2 separate regions of the Homo sapiens genome follow, and region 2 is linked to region 1. The links are contacts of gene promoters, found by promoter capture Hi-C in human tissues and cell types (Jung and others, 2019). All regions are on one chromosome and are shown on one strand. Each heading gives the region's core, a stretch centred on a gene start or on the middle of the fragment in contact. The rest is flanking DNA. Distances are from core to core; before and after follow the strand shown.

Region 1 (4,953 bases), core at 1,527-4,026:
TTACAGGTATTGTGCACAAGCGCAAGGACCATCCCATACAAAGCCCTGGGCCCCCCACTATCCCTGATATGTTGACATTTCTCCCCTTGCTGTAAGAAAGGCTTCAACCAAACTCTCATGGAGCTGGAACCTTAGTGCAGTGTATATCAGTTAGGGCTAGGGCAAACCAGGGAAACCGATTTTGATTTTCAAAGAAACAAAATTGATCAGTAAGACACTGCACAGTTCATAGAATCTCTGGGAAAGATGGGGAGGCAGGTTCAGGGGACAGGCAGGAAGGAAGGAAGGGAAACAGAACATTTAAAACCTAGACGAGCACACCACATGGTGATTCTGTCGAGGACGTCATTGTGGGTGCCCACGGCTGCCACCAGCACCACCGCCAGCATTAGCAGCTGGGAGCTGGAGCTAAGTTCACTGCCCTTGCTGTCCTTAGGGAGTGGATGTTGCCGGTGATACCTGTGCCACCACCAAAATGCAATCGCCCCTGTCACCTGCGATTTTTTTTTTTTTTTTTTTTTGAGACAGGGTCTTGTTCTGTTGTCTAGGCTGGAATGCAGTGGCCCAATCATGGCTCACTGACGCAGTCTCGACCTCCAGAGGCTCAAGTGATCCTCTTGCCTCACTTGCCTCTTGTCAAGTGGCTGGGACTACAGGTCCACAGGCCCACACCACTACTCCCGGCTAATTTTCTTTTTCTTTTTTTTTTTGAGACGGAGCCTCACTCTGTCGCTCAGGCTGGAGTGCAGTGTCTCGATCTCGGCTCACTGCAACCTCCGTCTCCCAGGTTCAAGTGATTCTCCTGCCTCAGCTTCCTGTCTGCTGCCTCAGCCTCCCGAGTAGCTGGGATTATAGATGTGCGCCACCACGCCCAGCTAATTTTTGTATTTTTAGTAGAGACAGGGTATCACCATGTTGGCCAGGCTGGTCTCGAACTCCTGACCTCATGTGATCCGCCTGCCTCGGCCTCCCAAAGTGCTGGGATTACAGGCATGAGCCACCCGGCGCGCGCCCCTTTTTTTGTATTTTTTTGTAAGGACGGGGTTTGGCCGTGTTGCCCAGGCTGGTCTTGAACTCCTGGGCTCAAGGGATCCACACGCCTTGGGCTCCCAAAGTGCTGGGATTACAGCCTGCTTCTTAATGTCACTAACTCTTCACCCAAGTCCTAGGCGCTTGTGCCTGCTGTGCCAGTCCCAGGCCGCAGGCTGGCACCGTAGCTATAAAGGGCGCCAGAAAAAAAGATTTTGCTAGATAGCGATGAATTCCCCAATCACAGAAAGGAGATACTGCGGATGCTTATCAGCCGAATACCAGTAAGTGTCCCTTGCAGAATGGGATTAGAGACTGCAAACTGCAGGCCTGCCAACAGAGGGTGCTCTGTGGGAAATTATGTGAAAACGTAGAAAAGAGCGCGAGCCAGTAATTTAAAAATCGACGTCCAAATACTCACTGGGTCACCTATCAGCTATGTAATTTGGGCAGGTAAATAAGCTTTTGTTTCTTTTTTTTTTTTCCTCATAAATGGACTAGGAATATTACTCCTACCTACCTGGCATGGCCGATGTGCGAGAAAATGAGATAATCTCGTGGACAGGCTCTGAAAACTGCACTTTTACTGAGTAAAAAACCCTTTGCCTCTCCGGGCCCCCGTTTCCCCATCTGTAAAATGAGTCTGTAAAGTGAGAATGATACTCCCTACGCCGCAAGGCTCTTGCGGGTTAAACTGGAATATTATAAATGCACCATTTATTTGCAGATTGAAATTCTGTGCGTCCGGAGGTGGCGGGTGGGAGAGGGAATGAGCAGGGATGCAGGGTAGGCCCTGAGTTGCTGGGGGCTCAGCATGGCCGCTGCGCACATTGCATCATTTTGTCGACACTGGTGTGGGTGAAATCTTCCAAAAGAAATTAAAACAGAAAAAAAAAAAAAGAAGGGTCTGGGACTTAGCAGAAACAAGCCACAATCTCCAGATTCTACTATTCCTGGGCCACGTGAGGAGCGCCCACCCGTCTGGCGCTGCGTTCCCCGGGGCGTCCCAGCCTCTCCCGCCCAGCCCGCCGCCCTCCTCCCCCATGGCCACCAAGGTCAGGCTCTCGCAGGGAAAACGTCTTCAGGGGCTAAACATCGGTTTTAAACGAAATGGAAAACCTCCAACACGAATCAACAGCAGAGGAAAAGCAGACGCCAAACAAGCGCTCAGAACCCCTTCAGGGGCGGCGTGGTAGCTCTTCCCGGGGAACAGCGAGGGGCGCGGATGTCCCTCTTCCTAAAACTGCACGCGGGGTGCGATCCGAGACCCAGCGGCGGCGAGCGCGCCCGAGTCTGCTCGCGGGCGCCAGGCGCGCGGAGAGCGGCGGCTGCGCCTGCGCCAACGCCGTCAGTCCGCGGGGCCCGATCCCGACACCTAACTCCACAGAGAAGCTCTGCTCCTAAGGGAAAGGGAAGACTTCAGCCACAGTTTCGCAGCCAACCTGGCGACCTCACCTCTCTGGCGACCTCACTTCCCAGCCGGCTCCGTTTAAGAAAACCCCGCGCAGGACCGCGCCCGCCCCCGCGCCCGCGCCCGCCCCCGCCCCCTCGCGCCCGCCCCCTCGCGCCCGCCCCCTCGCGCCCGCCCCCTCGCGCCCGCCCCCTCGCGCCCGCCCCCTCGCGCCCGCCCCCTCGCGCCCGCCCCCTCGGGTAACAAACATGGCCCCCGGCGGGGCGGAAGCGCTTCCGCCCCCAACGAAGATGGCGGAGGGGGCGGGACTAAAAGGGCGTAGGTAGATCGCCGGGGGCTGACGAGTGCACCATGGCCACCGCGGCAACCTCACCCGCGCTGAAGCGGCTGGATCTGCGCGACCCTGCGGCTCTTTTCGAGACGCATGGAGCGGAGGAGATCCGCGGGCTGGAGCGCCAGGTTCGGGCCGAGATCGAGCACAAGAAGGAGGAGCTGCGGCAGATGGTGGGCGAACGGTACCGCGACCTGATCGAGGCGGCCGACACCATCGGCCAGATGCGCCGCTGCGCCGTGGGGCTAGTGGACGCCGTGAAGGCCACCGACCAGTACTGCGCCCGCCTCCGCCAGGCCGGCTCGGCCGCGCCCCGGCCACCGCGGGCCCAGCAGGTCAGTCCCCGTGCCCCCACCCTGCGACCCGCAGGCGGGTCCCGGAGCCCCTGGCCTTGCAGGTCAACCCCGCCCCCCTCTGTCAGTCCCAGACCCCGCGAGTCCTCACCTTCCTTAGCCAGGAGCCTATCCGCCCCTCACCCTTTGGGCCCCCCTCAGAGGACAGTGCCAGCCTTCCTTGCACATATGCGGCTGCTGATCCGTTCTGGAAATGCCATTCAACAGTTTCTTCAGGCGCTTTCCCCCGACTTCCGGGCCTTGATTCCTACACCTCACTGGGCTCCTTTCAATTTTAGCGGAAAACGCCAGGAGTTTCTGTCTTGACAGTTCAACGCTCACCTATATAACATGTCCTGACATTGTTTTTCCTCAGGTTTCTCCCCTATGTTGACACCTGCACTCCAAGTCATTTCTTCCTCATCCCAACCTTCCCCTTATCTCCCCAAGAATAACTTCCACAACCCCAAATAGCTGTTCTACCCTTTGGGAGTTGTTGAGGGTACCAGCTATCAAGCCCTTAACTTTATGTATGTATGTGACAGGGTCTCCCAAAGTGCTGGGATTACAGTCATGAGCCACCACAGCCGGCCAAGCCCTTACCTTTTAATAGCTGAACATTTTCATTTTCAGAACTAAGGCTTTTTTCATTCAGGTTCTCCTTATCCCGTGTTCTTCCCCCCAAACGCTATTGATTAGACACAATGAGGAAGGATGGGAGGTAAACAAACACATCCTCATATTGGAGCTGCAGCTTGCGTTCCTAAAGAATTTTTATTGGCCGGGTGCGGTGGCTCACGCCTGTAATCCCAGCACTTTGGGAGGCCGAGGCGGGTGGATCACGAGGTCAGGAGATCCAGACCATCCTGGCTAACACGGTGAAACCCCGTCTCTACTAAAAATACACAAAATTAGCCAGGCGTGGTGGCCGGCGCCTGTAGTCCCAGCTACCTGGGAGGCTGAGGCAGGAGAATGGCATGAACCCGGGAGGCGGAGCTTGCAGTGAGCCGAGATCGCGCCACTGCACTCCAGCCTGGGCCACAGAGCGAGACTCTGTCTCAAAAAAAAAAAAAAAAAGAATTTTTATTTCTTTATTTTTTGAGACAGGATCTCGCTCTGTCACCCAGGCTGGAGTGCAGTGGCGCGATCTCGGCTCACTGCAACCTCCGCCTCCCGGGTTCAAGCGATTCTCCTGCCTCAGCCACCCGCGTAGCTGGGATTACAGGCACCTGCCACCATGTCCGACTAATTTTTGTACTTTCAGTAGAGACGGGGTTTCACCATATTGGCCCGGCTGGTCTCCAACCCCTGACCTCATGTGATCTGCCTGCCTTGGCCTCCCAAAGTGATGGGATTACAGGCGCGAGAGCCACCGCGCACGGCCCCTTAAAGAATATAGACCTAGCAATGAACGAAGTGAAAGGGCATGAAGGGTGAAAAAGGTAAACAGTTAGTTGTTTTTAACAGCCTGGGAGAACTTACTGGGACATAGAAGAAAAAATTGAAAAGTACAGTCTAACTCCAATTTGGAACTTGTTCATGCTATCTGAGCTTTACAGAAATCCTGGTCAGTAGACTGGACTGACACAATAAAACTATAGGAAGTTGCAAATAAGTTTGCATATTTTTGAAATGAGTGACCTCATCCCTCCCAAAGCTAACATTTAGTACACGTGTCCCCTTAGGTGGCCAGCCTTTGCTGTAACTGAGTCATGCTTCAGGGTTTATTAAAACGCTAACTTGAATTATGCCTGATTTTAGAAACGTATTGATTTTCATAGTTGTTATATCTGGTTTATTCTCGGTTAACCCTACAAAAATTTGAGTGTCTTCTTCGTTCACATTACAAA
Region 2 (5,425 bases), core at 2,263-4,762, 160 kb after region 1:
GAAGATCAAGATTAGATGGTGTGTGCCATTGGCTCGGAATTTCTTTTCCATTGAGATTTACTTGTGTGCTAAGTATATACATTTTTTTTTTTTGTACAAAACTTGGGCTCTTCTTTTGAAAATGAAGTTGCCGTCCAGCCAGGCTGCAGTGTTAAAGTTCCATCAAACAGGCCTTTAAATCTCCAGTCTTTGTGTGCATCCTGCCCTCTGCCTGGTGCCCCCTTCTCCTGCACCCTGGGCCCTCTACGGGAGAGCCAGCCCCTCTCTCCTCTAGCCCATCACCCCCAGCTGAATTATAGCCTTTCTCACATCACATCATATGTGTTTGTTTATAAGTCAAACTGACGCTTTGTTTATTGCCATATCACAGGAAAACGACTGGGCAGATTTCTGCCAATTTTGGAGAGTGGGTTTTGGGTGGTCTGTCTCAGAATATAAACCAGGTGGCGTATGCAAAACCCACTCTCCAAAGACCTGGGGGAAGGGGTGTCCTTGAAAAGAGAGGCAGTCATTTTTCCTGGCGGCTGAAACCGAGGGGCCCTGGCCTGTGCAGCTGCTGATCCTCAGGGACGTACCCTTGCACAAACTGTCACAGGCAGGAGAACTACCAGTGGCATCCCCATCAGCCCCCACTTGAAGGTCGCAATGGTGGGGGCTCCGCATTGCAGATGCTGATTGGTAGCCGAGCTGCTTCTCACGTGGCTGAGTGGCAGCAGCACTGACTTATTTAGGAGCCTCATAAGGACCACAGTGGGGCCAGCACAGTGGTTCACACCTGTAATCCCAGCACTTTGGGAGGCTGAGGCGGGGGAACACTTGAGGTCAGGCATTTGAGACCAGCCTGGCCAACATAGTGAAACCCCATCTCTACTAAAATACAAAAATTAGTGAGGGGTGGTGGCACATGCCTGTAATCCCAGCTACTCTGGAGGCTGAGGCACGAGAATCACTTGAACCCAGGAGGCAGAGGTCTCAGTAAGTGGAGATTGCGCCACTGCACTCCAGAGCAAGACCCTGGCTTAACAACAAAAAAACTCATAACTTGGATCACGTGGGTTTTGTCCCCCACAATAAGTTCCTGGGTAAGCCATGCTAAGTTGGGGGTCTCTGTCCCTGCCAGCTTTGAGCTAGGGAGTTAGGTCCAGCCTTCTCAGCTCTGCCAAGCCCATCAGTAACCCTGGAGCTGAACAAAACAGCAGTGAGTGGGAGGCCCTCAGCCCACGGGGCCCACAGCGTGATCCCAGGCTTCCTGGCACCTCCTGCACAGCCAGCAGCCCAGCTCCCTGCTGGCACCTCTTCCTTCACTTCCTCTCCCAGGCCTGGGCAGAAAGGTCCAGGGCGTGGGATGCAGTGGCCTTTCGTGGCCCTTTCCTCAATAACCACTGGGCTTGGCTGAGGCAGAGGGTGAGGGTGGGAAGCTGTAAGGCTGCATGGTTGGAATACACACAGCCCCTTCCCCACACAGCCTGGGACAGTGTCCCCACGTGACCCACCTAATGGCCGCTCTCTGAAGCTCTGTGTCTTCCAGAGGCACCGACCCCCTCTTCATATAAAAGCTGACATTTACGGAATGGTTGCCGTGTGCCTGGCTCTACACTGAGTTCACCAGTGTCTAACTCAGCAGATCCTCCCCACAGCCTCGGACAGAGCCTAGTATCACCCCTGCCTGTTCCACAGATGGGGAAACTGAGGCTTAGAAAGGTTACTTGGCACACCCAGGACATCCCAGGTCACGAGCAGCAAAGCTAGGATTCACACTCAGGTCCAAACCTCCAAAGCTTAATGTCTCCCTGGTCTACACTGCTTCTCATCCTCAGGGCTCCAGGGCACCCAGCCCTTTGTTTCTGAAGCTGTTTTGATGCGTGAGTAGTGAAGCTGAGCATTTTTCCAGGTCTCTGGCCTGGAATGCAGGGCTGTGTGTCAACCTTCTCCCCAGAGTCTCCCTCTCCGCACCTTCAGCGTGCTCTCTTGCAGGACAGCCCTAATGAGTAACTAAGCCTGTGGGGTGACCCCTGAACGTAGAGAGGGCCGTCTTCTTCGGGGTACCCCCTATGATCAAGGTTCCCGGGACCCCATTGGCACTGGCCGCAAACTTTGAGCAGAACTTGGGAGGGGACAGATGGCCCATATATGACTTCAGGGTGGTTTCTTGGGCCCCTTAATATTTGCTGCCCCTTGAAGGAAAGGAAGAAAGCCCATCTACGTTCACTGCCCCACTCTGGGAGGCGCTGCTCCCTGCCCCCTGCAGGACACCTGGCCCTCCTGCCCTCACCTGAGAGTCGGAGATTTCTGAGGGCTTCTCCGTCAGGCTGCTGCTCTCTGCAGGGATGAGGTCGTTGTATTTGGTGACATCCTCATCCGAGTAGTGCAGGCTGCCTGGGCTGGGCCTGGGGGGAGACCTGGAGAGAGCGGGGGAGTGGGGCCGAGAGGTGCACTCACTCAGAGCGGCCTCCCCTGGCCTAGGGAGACCACAGTGGGGGCCTGGGGAACACGGATCCCTGCCACCCTGTGCTCCTCCTCCTTCCTGGGTCTGCCTTCCAGGGGCCCGGGCCTGGGAGGTAGGAATCTGGAGGAGGACAAAGAGGGAAAAATGGGGTGCCCGGCTAATGCTGTCATGGCAACATGCAGGGTGAATGTAGGGGGGATGTCACCGTGGCTGGGTTCAGGACCCCACATCCTGGGGCTGCTTTGGTGCAAACGGGATTTTTGTGTACACACAGTGGCTTTGGGGGCACACAGGGGCCTGGATGTGTGTGCACTGTGGGTAGGAGAGGCTGGGAAGGGCAGGGGAAGGTGAGGCCACGTGTGAAATGCCCCCTTGTTACATGTAGTAGGGCCCCGGAGCCAGCCTGGCGGGGCTGCTATGGCCATGCTGGGCCTGGCTGGGCCTGCTGTGGGGGCCTCAAACAGCTCTTTCTTTGGAAGGCTGGATTTGGCAGAGGATAAGAGCTCGGCTTTGGGAGCTCCTCCCTCCATCCTCTAGATGAACACACACATAGCTTCGTCCCTCTAAGACAGAGACAGAGGGAAGCTTTGTGAGCTCCTGAGAGAGGCTGGACTCCTCCTGACTGCCGCCTCCAATGAGCTGGGAATGCCAATAGGGCTGAGGCTGGAGACAGGAGCCCTCTGGCCCAGTCTTTCTTGAGCTCAGGGGAACAGAAAACCGCCACACATCAGGGGAGGGTCAGGTGGGCCCCAGCAGCTGCTCCTGCCCTTGGAAATGGGCAGCCCGATGGCCACAGGGAGTAGGGCCTAGGAGGGGGCTGGGGTTAGAAAGAAGTCAGAAGAAAATAGGAGCTGTGCTTGCACCACGAGCCTTGTCCTGTCCTCATGGGCTGCTTTCAGATGCTGCCCTTTGAGGCTGATGGGGATAGGAGGTTGTCCTTTAATAGGTATAAATAAGGACCTGGGGGAGAGGGTTTCCCAAATGGGGAGGAAGACAGGAGGGCATAGCGATAATGCGGGTGCTCAGGCGTCCTTCGCTAAGGTGTTTTTGCTCGGTCTGCGTTGGCTGGGCCTGTCTTGCCTTTGGGGCCAGTGACGATCTGCAGGGCTGTTTCCCTGGCAGTTGGCTCCGAACATCAGTAGGTTGGTTTGAAAAATTTTGCCAGTTATTTGCATTCTACTGTCACTGTCAGGAACTCTTAGTAGCTACCTCCTTGTAAATTTCTCCCCAGTGCGCCCTCACCCCCAGGCTGTGATTGGGCATGGTGGGGACTGGGACCCTAGTTGTCCTGCTTGGGCCCCACTGTGTCTTTCTGCTGATCGTTCCCAGCCCTGGGGCTTGAATGGTGTTTCCCAGGACAAGGTATGGCCAGGTGGGCACTCCCTGCTCTATGGCCTTCCCCAGCATTCTCCCCACCTGGGCACTGCTGGGCCTGGCCCCCAACCCACGCAGAGGGCCCAGTACCTGGTGTACAGGCCGTTCTTTCGGCAGAAAGAGTTCTTGACGGAGAGCCGCCTGTTGTTGAGTTCCAGGGCAGGGAAGCTGCTTTCATCCAAGCTCATCATCTCGCTGTGGCCTAGGGCTCCAGACTTGGCACTGTTCCCTGAAGTCGGCGGGAGATTGACACCCTTTAGACTGTGTGGCCTCCCCTCTCCCATACCACTCTCCACCTGGCTGGGTTATCCCCTCTTTCTCTTGGTAGAGTTGAGACCAAAATAAGAGATTGAGATTGTGTGTAGAAACCCTAGGCTGCCCCACCCACCAGAGCAGGTGCGCTGCCAGGAGCCAGGAGAGGGACCTGATCACCCCTGTTCTGGCCAAAAAGGAGATACATAAAACTCAAGTCCAGCCAGCATGGCTGGTGCCAGCTCACTCACCCGAGTCTGTCTTCTTGGCGTACTTCTTGCTCTGGCCCCGGATGATGAGCACGAAGACCAGAAGCAGGATGAAGATGAGGCCGACCAGGGCAATGACCACCAAGAACCACCACTCCTCATAGAAGGGGTTGGCTTTCTGGGCTGGAGCACAGATAGTCAGGTATATAGGGTGCTCAGCCCCCTCCTCCCTCCAAATCTCCTGCTCCAGTTGGGACCCTACTAACTGCTACAATCTATGGGAAGGCAGGGTCTGTACCCTCCGAATGAGGCAGAACCTCTGTAAGGACAGTTTCACCTCAAGTATCCGCTCTGATCAGTCGGTAAAGGGCTGCCTGGAGGGCTGATGTCAGATGAGTTCTGAGATGGCTACCTGGCTCAATAGGAAAGAGTGCTAAGATTGATTAGTGATGTCTGCCAGGGACATAGGAGGGGAGAGTGGCAGTGTGTTAGCTACTTTTTCCCCTTTTTTTTTTTTTTGAGACGGAGTTTCACTCTTATTTCCCAGGCTGGAGTGCAATGGCATGATCTTGACTCACTGCAACCTCCACTTCCCGGGTTCAAGCAATTCTCCTGCCTCAGCCTTCCAAGTAACTGGGATTACAGGTACCTGCCACCACACCCGGCTAATCTTTGTATTTTTAGTAGACACGGGGTTTCACCATGTTGGCCAGGCTGGTCTCTAACTCCTGACCTCAGGTGATCCACCTGCCTCGGCCTCCCAAAGTGTTGGGATTACAGACGTGAGCCACCGTTCCCGGCCCCTTTTCTTTTTTTCTTTTGTACTTGTCTAGGAGCTATCTTGATAAGCATACCTAAATCTGTGTGGGGAAAGGTGCTTCTCTGGCCTGCAGGAGGATGAGAGAGCTTTTCCTGAGGTTTAGTTTGGAGTGAAATTTTTGCTGGTAGCAGAAGGCAGGGGGAATTGGGAGGATGGACACAGGGGTTCTTTAGTAAAAGGTGAAAGATTTACACGATCTGAAGAAAAACCAGAGTGTGGTGAGAGGGTCTTTAGGATGTCTCTTCCAGGTAGAGCTCCCTTTTCTCAAAACCCCTAGACTGTGCTTTCTGCACCCAGCCAGGACTACCCATGCTGTGTGGACAA

Evidence for each region. Contacts are between HindIII fragments. The study calls those that stand out against the background at their distance.
Region 2: a fragment that was not itself captured here is called in contact with the fragment with the promoter of COG1 in region 1 in 2 of the 25 tissues and cell types used here (aorta and hippocampus).

What each region holds. Positions count from the first base shown.
Region 1 is chr17:73,190,279-73,195,231 of GRCh38, forward strand. COG1 (component of oligomeric golgi complex 1) reads left to right here and starts at 2,777. Exons shown (of 14, transcript NM_018714.3): 1 at 2,777-3,106. The coding sequence starts at 2,792. RefSeq lists enhancers at 2,004-2,763, 2,049-2,098, 2,729-3,008 and a silencer at 3,059-3,268. The HindIII fragment of the contact is 14,916 bases long and covers 1-4,953 here.
Region 2 is chr17:73,346,327-73,351,751 of GRCh38, forward strand. It overlaps SDK2 (sidekick cell adhesion molecule 2), which reads right to left. Exons shown (of 45, transcript NM_001144952.2): 42 at 4,324-4,464; 43 at 3,911-4,049; 44 at 2,273-2,399. Among named protein-coding and RNA genes, the nearest start is that of CDC42EP4, 37 kb to the left of the region's middle. RefSeq lists an enhancer at 996-1,845. The HindIII fragment of the contact is 5,768 bases long and covers 629-5,425 here.